Linked DNA regions of Homo sapiens: region 2 is linked to region 1. The links are contacts of gene promoters, found by promoter capture Hi-C in blood cells and fetal thymus (Javierre and others, 2016). All regions are on one chromosome and are shown on one strand. Each heading gives the region's core, a stretch centred on a gene start or on the middle of the fragment in contact. The rest is flanking DNA. Distances are from core to core; before and after follow the strand shown. Region 1 holds the start of AQP7 (aquaporin 7). Region 2 overlaps CHMP5 (charged multivesicular body protein 5).

Region 1 (4,070 bases), core at 664-3,163:
CTGCTCGTTTTGGAAAACTCAGTTCCCACGTCACCTCTAACGGAAGACCCTTGTACCCCTCCAGCTTGGGATAGCCCCGTCTGTATTCCTTCCAGCCTATCTGGTGTGTCCTAAGTCACCTGCTGCTTACCTGTCTCTGCCGTGAGACAGATGGGACTGTGTCTTCTCCACCTCTCAGTCCCCAGGGTCAAGCCCTGTAAAAGAGCTTAGAGCCTGATCTCTGACCCCAGCATGGATCCCAATTCCCTCCCTCACCAACCTGACACCAGCCCATTCCAACTCTGCCCAAGTGCTGACCTCATCCAAGACCCCAGATCCACTTCTAACATGACCTCATCCCGGCCCTGGGAGCACACATGGGAAAGGAAAAAAGGCAGGACTCTCCCATTTCCAAGCGTGCACCCCTCCCTTCCTGAGGAAGAAAGGCTGAATCTTGAGCCCACGTAGAATCTGCAGAGGGAGGCCGGGCGCAGTGGCTCACACCTATAATCCCAGCACTTTGGGAGGCCGAGGCGGGTGCATTACCTGAGGTCAGGAGTTCGAGACCAGCCTGACCAACATGGTGACACCCCGTCTTTACTAAAAATCCAAAAAAACTAGCTGGGCTTGGTGGTGCATGCCTGTAATCCCAGCTACTTGGGAGGCTGAGGCAGGAGAATCACTTGAACTGGGAGGCAGAGATTGTGGTGAGACAAGACTGTGCCACTGCACTCCAGCCTGGGCGGAGCGGGACTCCGTCTCAAAAAAAAAAGAATCTGCAGAGGGAAGTTAGTGCCTTACAGAGGGCTTCTGACTAGGAAGCCCCGGGACTGTGGCCGACCCCTTCCTCTCCCTGCCTCACCCCTGCAGAAAGATCTGCAGAAAAAGCTGGAAGGGGTGGGAGGGTGTGTGCAGGGGTGGGGACTGGGGCTATGCAGGTTCCAGACCTGGTCTTTGGCACCCTCTACAGGACAGTTCCATTCCCAGACCTGAGCTTTGGACAACTGAATCTTATGCCCCTTCCCACCCATGGAGCCTGGTGCCGGAAGTTCCCAGGACTTACCCACCGTCCACCACGCCACATAGCAAGCGTCCTCAGTGTCTGCAGACCAGAAACACCTCCCTTGTGTCTCAGCACTGGGCCACCTGCTGAAACCCCAAACTGCCTGCCCCATTGTTTGAGACCCAGTCAGGCCTTGGCTCCAAAAGTCCTCTGGGACTGCTGCTGGCCCCCAGGGTCTCTCCTGACTGCACCTCGGTCCCGGAGCTCCCACACCGCTGAGCCCCGAGCCCGATGTCCCGATCCAGCTCTGGGTCCTTTACGGGGGCCTTGCTGGCCTTTCCTAAGGGAGGTGTTTTCCCGAGGACAGGTGGACTGCTCCTCAGACTAGGGGCCCTCGGAGGGCCAGGCCTGGGCTTCTACCTCCTCTCGCAGGCTGGTGTTTCTCTGCAAATATGGCTCGTGTGTCCTCCTTCCTCTCAGACTGGGGGCCCCTGAGGACTGGGCCTGAGTTTCCCTTTCCCCCTTCACAATGGGGGTTCCCTGAGGACTGACCCAGGGCCTCCCCCGTCCCCTCCACCTGGCTGTTAATCTCCAACACTTCCACCTCCAGTCCTATTCTGCACAGCTCTCCCCAGCGCTGGGGGCTCAGAGGCCTCTTCAGCCTTCCCCAGGGCTGGGGCTCAGGGAGGGCTTCCTCAGGCGCTGGCCCCAGAGTCAGGCTGCACATTGGCTTGGAGGACAGGCCTTTCCTCTGGGACTGAGAGGCCCAGAGTGCCCACCCAGAGCTCCACCTCTGACCTCACAAAGGCCTGCTTCAGAACTCGGTCTCCACGGCACTGCTGGCCGGACGAGGGATGTTATTTTGGGCAGTGCATCTGGACTTGGTTCAAGTGGCACCAGCCAAACCCCTGCCTTACTGACCTCTCCCCTGGAGGAGCAGGAGCAGCGCTCGAGGCCGCCCTGGGAGAGCTGAGAGGCAGGCTCTGGACTGGGGACACAGGGATAGCTGAGCCCCAGCTGGGGGTGGAAGCTGAGCCAGGGACAGTCACGGAGGAACAAGATCAAGATGCGCTGTAACTGAGAAGCCCCCAAGGCGGAGGCTGAGAATCAGAGACATTTCAGCAGAGTGAGTGGGGCTCCAGGCAGGGTGGGGATGGGGCAGCCTCCTCAGCGCCCAGATCTGGAAGGGCCATTCCCTGGGTACCATACAGGGAGGAGGTGACTGAGGGATTGTTTGGGGAAGGAGCCCCGTCTGGGAGTGGAAGTCCCGGCTTTCTTGTTATGGTGCAGTCCTGTGTTGCTGTGTGACACAGGCACATACACCCTCTCTCTGGGCCTCAGTTTCCTTACCTGTAAGTTGGTTGTTGGGAGGACCAGCGGTAGAGCAGAGATGGCAGGGATGCACTGAGCTGGGCTGTCAGCAGACCATGGGGGTGGGACGAGGAGAGAGCTGAAGACCACCGGCAGTGGACCACAGCGGGAGGCGTGCAGGCAGGAGACGGGTCAGCTGCCGGCTTGCTGGAGTCATTCCTCCCACGCAGTCCCCTCCTGAGGGGCTGGAGCTGGGGCTGGAGGGTTTCGGCAGTCAGGGCTGGAGATAAGAGTCTGTGCTGGAGCTAGAGGGAACTGGGCTAGAGAATCAGGAGGACAGACAGGGTGAGGGGACTTCGGGCTACCTTCATGCTGTCAGTTAGAGATAAAGATAGGAGTACAAAGGGGAATTTTTGGGTGAGGTACACGGGTGAAATGAGTTTTCAGGGCCTCATCCTGTGTGTTCACCTTCTGTGTGTGTGTGTGTGCATGCGTGCATGTGTGTGTGTGTGCAGGTCCTGGACAGTCGCAGCTTAAGTTAGCAGCAAGAGGACTTGAGGTTAAAGGTATAGCACGCAAATATGAGGCTGGAGCCACTGAGTAGAGGCTGAGGGCATCTCCACAGTCCAAAGCCGGGCTGCAGACACGGAAGGTCAGCAGGAGCACTGGAGGGTCTGGCCTGGGGCTGGGGTCCTGGGGCCAGCATGGGTGGGGTGGGGCTCCAGGGCGTCGCCTCATTGGCTGAGCACCGCTCCTCCCTCCCTGTTCCTTGGCTGGGTTAAGGGAGTGGCACTAGCAGGAGCTGCCCCAGGGCTTCTCCCCTGGGGACCAAGGTCTGATGGAAGTGTGGGGCCAAGTTCTGTGTCCTCCAGCCCTAGTGACCTCTCTTTGGCTCCTCAGCATCTACAAATCTGAAAGACAAAACATGGTTCAAGCATCCGGGCACAGGCGGTAAGTACCCCACCCTCTTCTCACCCTCCAGCCCCCTGTCCTTCACCCAGCCCACTTCAGTGCCCTCCCTGTTCCATCCTCAGCCTCTCCCTTGGGGCAGCTGTCCCCACTCGACCTCCTCCTCCCCACCCACCCACTCGCCTCTGAGGTCCCAGAAGAAGAGCATCTTCCACCTGTTGCCTGGGCTGGGTCCTGGGGTGAGGGGAGGCTCAGAAATACTTGGATGAGGGTCAAGGCATGCAGGTGGCCTTCAACTCAACTGCACTCAGCACCTCTCACCCTCTCAGGCTCAGCTGTCTTTGGGGTGAACAAGAGCCAGTCCTTGCAATGGCCAAGGCCCAGCCTTGTTAGCTTTCTGGCCTCCCCACTCCAGCCCCCTGCTCTCCCTCCTCCAGCCACACTGAGTTTCTTTTCAGGTTTTTTTTTTTTTCCGAGATGGAATCCAGTTCTGTCGCCCAGGCTGGAGTGCAATGGCATGATCTTGGCTCACTGCAACCTCCTCCTCCCGGGTTCAAGCGATTCTCTTGCCTCAGCCTCCTGAGTAGCTGTGATTACAGGATTACAAGCACACACTACCACACCCAGCTAATTATTATTATTATTATTTTGGTATTTTTAGTAGAAATGGGGTTTCGCCATGTTCGCCAGGCTGTTCTTGAACTCCTGACCTCAGGTGATCCACCCGCCTTGGCCTCCCAAAAGGTTGGGATTACAGGTGTGAGCCACTGCACCTGGCCTCACACTGACTTTCTTTGCTTTCTTCAAACATGCTGAGAGTCCTCTGGTGACTAGTCTCCCTCCACCTGAGAGGCTTTCTGCAGCTAAC
Region 2 (4,070 bases), core at 949-3,448, 120 kb after region 1:
AGACCCTGAAATTGGGCAGGAGTTTGAACTTGCTGTAGTACTCCAGGCACCTTCCAAGAAAAGAATGAAGCAGTTTCTTTTTTATTGTTAACAATCCCTCATATAAGAATAGCCCCTTGCAGTTAACAAGGTACTTATGACCATTACCTCAATTATTCCTCACAAAAGCTCTGTGAGTTAAGCATGATTTTACTAATAAGGAAACAGAAGGTTAGAGAGGTTGAATAGACTACTCAGTAGTTAGTAAATGGTAGACCCAGGGCCCAAGCCCAGATTGTTCCTTGCTCTTTCCTCACAATGCTACTGGTTAATTTGGTTTCTGTAGTGGAGTTATAGGCTGAAATGACATTAAAATTCTATTAAATTTGGTTTCCGCAGTAGAGGTTTTAAGCTGAAGTGATATTATTAAAATTATATCCTTTTGAAAAATATTTATTGAGTATAAATAAATGTCCTATACATTAAATATCAAGAAATATTCATAATTGATTACAAGTCAAGATGTAATACTGAGGGAACCATAGAATCAAAATACCCACTCATGATACAGTAGTGATAATTCCATTCCAATAATGGACACAGTAACGACTTGTTCACAAGACACAACAAAACCCATCAAAAAGGCCATCACTTTAACCAACCTATAATACCACAATAGAAAATGATTCTGAATCATAATATGAACAGCCCCAATAATCTCATCTTTGTCTTATCAATTTATCAGGTCATTTTGAGACTGTAGAGTTACACTGTCATAGACTTTTAAGATTCCATTTCCTTAGTTTTATTTCAAATTATTATTAATGAATGAAAACAAGTCATACGAGCTAAAAATACTTTTAAACTGAGTTCGTTTTTCATAAGAAAAAAAGGAATCAAATTTTAGTACGAAGAAAGCATTTCCCAAGCAATGAGTCTCTTAATGGAAAAAATAAAAGAGCAATGTAATTAAACTTTCCTTCAAAGAAAGGAAAGAAACCTAAATCTGTTATGGCAAATTTGGAAAGATAAATATTTCCTAGTCCCATAATATGTGTTTGTTTTACAAGATATGCTTGAATGATGCAAATCTATGAAGCAGGGATCTGTGGCAATCCAAATTCATCCACCAGAACTCCATCCTGTAAAAAGGAAGCAATGTTTAGTGCCACTATTTTTCTATTTGATAAAAAAAAAAAGGATTACAAACATTTAATAGTTAAAACTCATTTCCAAGTATTTAATCAATCAAAACCAAAATCGCAGTCATAAGATGAGAACAAGCTTTTTCATGAAAGGTAAAGGAGGAAGTGATGAATCAAGAAGAGAACTAGAAAGGGCCAAAAGGGGGCTCCTCCACAGGGGAAAGAGAGTGAAAGAGGGAGAAAGAGAAATCTAAGAGTAAACCTGGAAAGGGGAAAAGGAGGCTGGGAGAGTCAAAAAGGAAAGGTTGAGGAGTGGGTCCTTGCCTCCAGATTTGCATTTTCACTCTGGACCAATACCTTTCTTAGCCTCCCAAATCCTTGAAGGAGCAGTGCCCGTGGATAGGCAGTCACTTCCATATCATGCTTTACTATAATCATAGGCAGCGACATCACTATCAATGAAAACACCAGGGCTGCTCTGCCTATGGAGTAGCCATTCTTTTATTCCTTTACTTTAAAAACAACAACAGGCCGGGCGCGGTGGCTCAGGCCTGTAATCCCAGCACTTTGGGAGGCTGAAGCAGGTGGATCATTTGAGGTCAGGAGTTCGAGGCCAGCCTGACCAACATAGTGAAATCCCATCTCTATTAAAAACAAAAAAATTAGCCAGGTGTGGTGAAGCATGCCTGTAATCTCAGCTACTTGGGAGGCTGAGGTGGGTGGATTGCTTGAATCCGGGGGTGGAGGTTGCAGTGAGCTGAGATTGTGCCACTGCACTCCAGCCTGGGTGACACAGCGGGACTCCATCTCAAAAAGATAAAACAACAACAACAACAAAACCCCCATATATCCACAGCATATATAACTCAGGAATCTGTGACCTTCTCAAAGTGGAAATAACATAGATGCTTCAGGGACTTTTTTTTTTTTTTTTTTTTTGAGATTGAGTTTTGCTCTTTTTGCCCAGGCTGGAGTGGTACAATGGCACGACCTCGGCTCACTGCAAGCTCCGCCTCCCGGCTTCAAGTGATTCTCCTGCCTCAGCCTCCCAAGTAGCTGGGATTACAGGAGCCTGCCACCACGCCCAGCTAATTTTTTATATTTTTAGTAGAGACGGGGTTTCACCATGTTGGCCAGGATGGTCTCGATCTCTTGACCTCGTGATCCGCCTGCCCCAGCCTCCCAAAGTGTTGGGATTACAGGCTTGAGCCACCGCGCCTGGCCGCTACAGGGACTTGTTACTAGAAAATTAACAAGGTGGACTATGGTAGTATTAATAAAAATTATTTCATGGGTTGCTGAGAAAAAGCAACCCATGGACCTGGGACCTTGAAGTTGCCAGAGAGGTCGGGGAGGAGTGGGCAGTTCAGAAAGGCAAGACTATCCCAGGCTCAACAGAGAAGGGAAGGATACAATAGAGGAAGATGCATACTCACAGAAACCAGTAATAATGGACCTAAGAAATTACCTGCTCCCTGCCCTTTGCTCTCACATTTTACAGGTAGGAAAAACTGATGAGGTTCAAAAAGAAGACATAAATTTCTGCTATTTTGCTCAAAGTCACACCTTGCCCAGCCTGGTTGTCATTATTAGTGGCTCATGCCTGTAATCCCAGCACTTTGGAAGGCTGAGGCAGGCAGATCACCTGAGACCAGGAGTTTGAGACCAGTCTGGCCAACATGGTGAAACCCCGTCTCTACTAAAAATACAAAAATTAGCCAGGCATGTTGGCGCGCACCTGTAATCGCAGCTACCTGGGGTGGCTGAGGCACGAGGATTGCTTGAACCAGGGGGGCGGAGGTTGCAGTGAGCTGAGATCACGCCACTGCACTCCAGCCTGAGTGACAGAATGAGTCTCTGTCTCAAAAAAAAAGACAATCATGTAGATTTGGACAGAGCTTTAAGTTTGCACAGTCCTTTACATACAAGATCTAATTTGCTTGCACAACAATTACGTGAGATACTTGTAATTATCTGCATTTTACAGATGCAAGGAAAAGAAAAGCTTACAATAGCTAAGTAATTAGTCATACTTAGTGTCAGGTGTTCTGATTCTTTTGCCTTAAATTAGAATCTTTCTACATTAAGTTTTATGCTTAAATTATTAATCCATAGTTTAGAAAATCCACCCATTCTAAACTCCTGTGTGTACAGGAAAAAAAAAAAAGAAAAAGAAAGGAAAATAAAATTAAAAATCCAGCCAGTAATTAACTGGTGTGTATGAAGAGTGAGACTTTTTCACTGCTGCCTAGCAAGTCTCATGCATGTGTTGCTTACGCTTTTACAGGAAATGTCTAAGACCCATCAATGGTACCCAGTGCCAGCTCACAACAAGGGTGATCATGTATGTTACACAAATTGTCATTCTATAAAAATATTCCTGAGCCTCAGTGACAGTGTTTATGCAGTCAGTTCATCATCCAATGCAGAAAAACCGGACCTTCAAGGGTTCACAAAATAATGACCAGGACTGTCTTTCTTTGTTCTAATGTTAAGACTACCTTTTAGATTCCCAGACTTATGGTCAAGCATAAAGCCTTTGCTATTTTGCATTGAAATATAAACAGAAAAAGCTTTCACCTTGTTTTTTGTATCAGTGGGAACACCTTCTGGAATTGCAGGTGCAGATGCTGCCTCATCCAAATAAGAACTGTCTTCATCAGCCAGAAGCTCATCACCTAGTGCATCCAACTCTGAGATTGAAACAGTCAACATTTAAAAAAAATGTAACCAAGAAAACTGGCAGCTAATAATTTCTCTCATTTATCGATGGACTTGAAAGAAGGCAGTGAAGAGGGCATGAGATTGTTGTATGCTGTGTGACCATTACGTGAAATCAGACTCCAAAAATAAGTCTGTGGTAAAATGAGTTGGAAGTGGCCAAGAGGAATGACAATAGCAGGTAGAGACTTATCAGGGGCAATTGAAGATGGGAAATTAAAAAAT

The links. The method cuts DNA at HindIII sites, captures the fragments that hold promoters and counts their contacts. A CHiCAGO score of 5 or more calls a contact.
Region 2: a contact is called between a fragment that was not itself captured here and the fragment with the promoter of AQP7 in region 1, in 1 of 17 cell types (endothelial precursors). The highest score is 5.7, in endothelial precursors.

What each region holds. Positions count from the first base shown.
Region 1 is chr9:33,400,411-33,404,480 of GRCh38, reverse strand. It overlaps AQP7 (aquaporin 7), which reads left to right and starts at 1,913. Exons shown (of 8, transcript NM_001170.3): 1 at 1,913-2,108; 2 at 3,194-3,244. The coding sequence starts at 3,219. It overlaps LOC105376020 (a long non-coding RNA gene), which reads right to left and starts at 2,960. Exons shown (of 3, transcript NR_188543.1): 1 at 2,659-2,960; 2 at 2,333-2,573. RefSeq lists an enhancer at 1-145 and a silencer at 2,696-2,990. The HindIII fragment of the contact is 7,387 bases long and covers 1-4,070 here.
Region 2 is chr9:33,277,860-33,281,929 of GRCh38, reverse strand. CHMP5 (charged multivesicular body protein 5) reads right to left here. Exons shown (of 8, transcript NM_016410.6): 7 at 3,705-3,817; 8 at 1-1,121. The coding sequence ends at 1,071. Among named protein-coding and RNA genes, the nearest start is that of NFX1, 11 kb to the left of the region's middle. The HindIII fragment of the contact is 1,866 bases long and covers 1,266-3,131 here.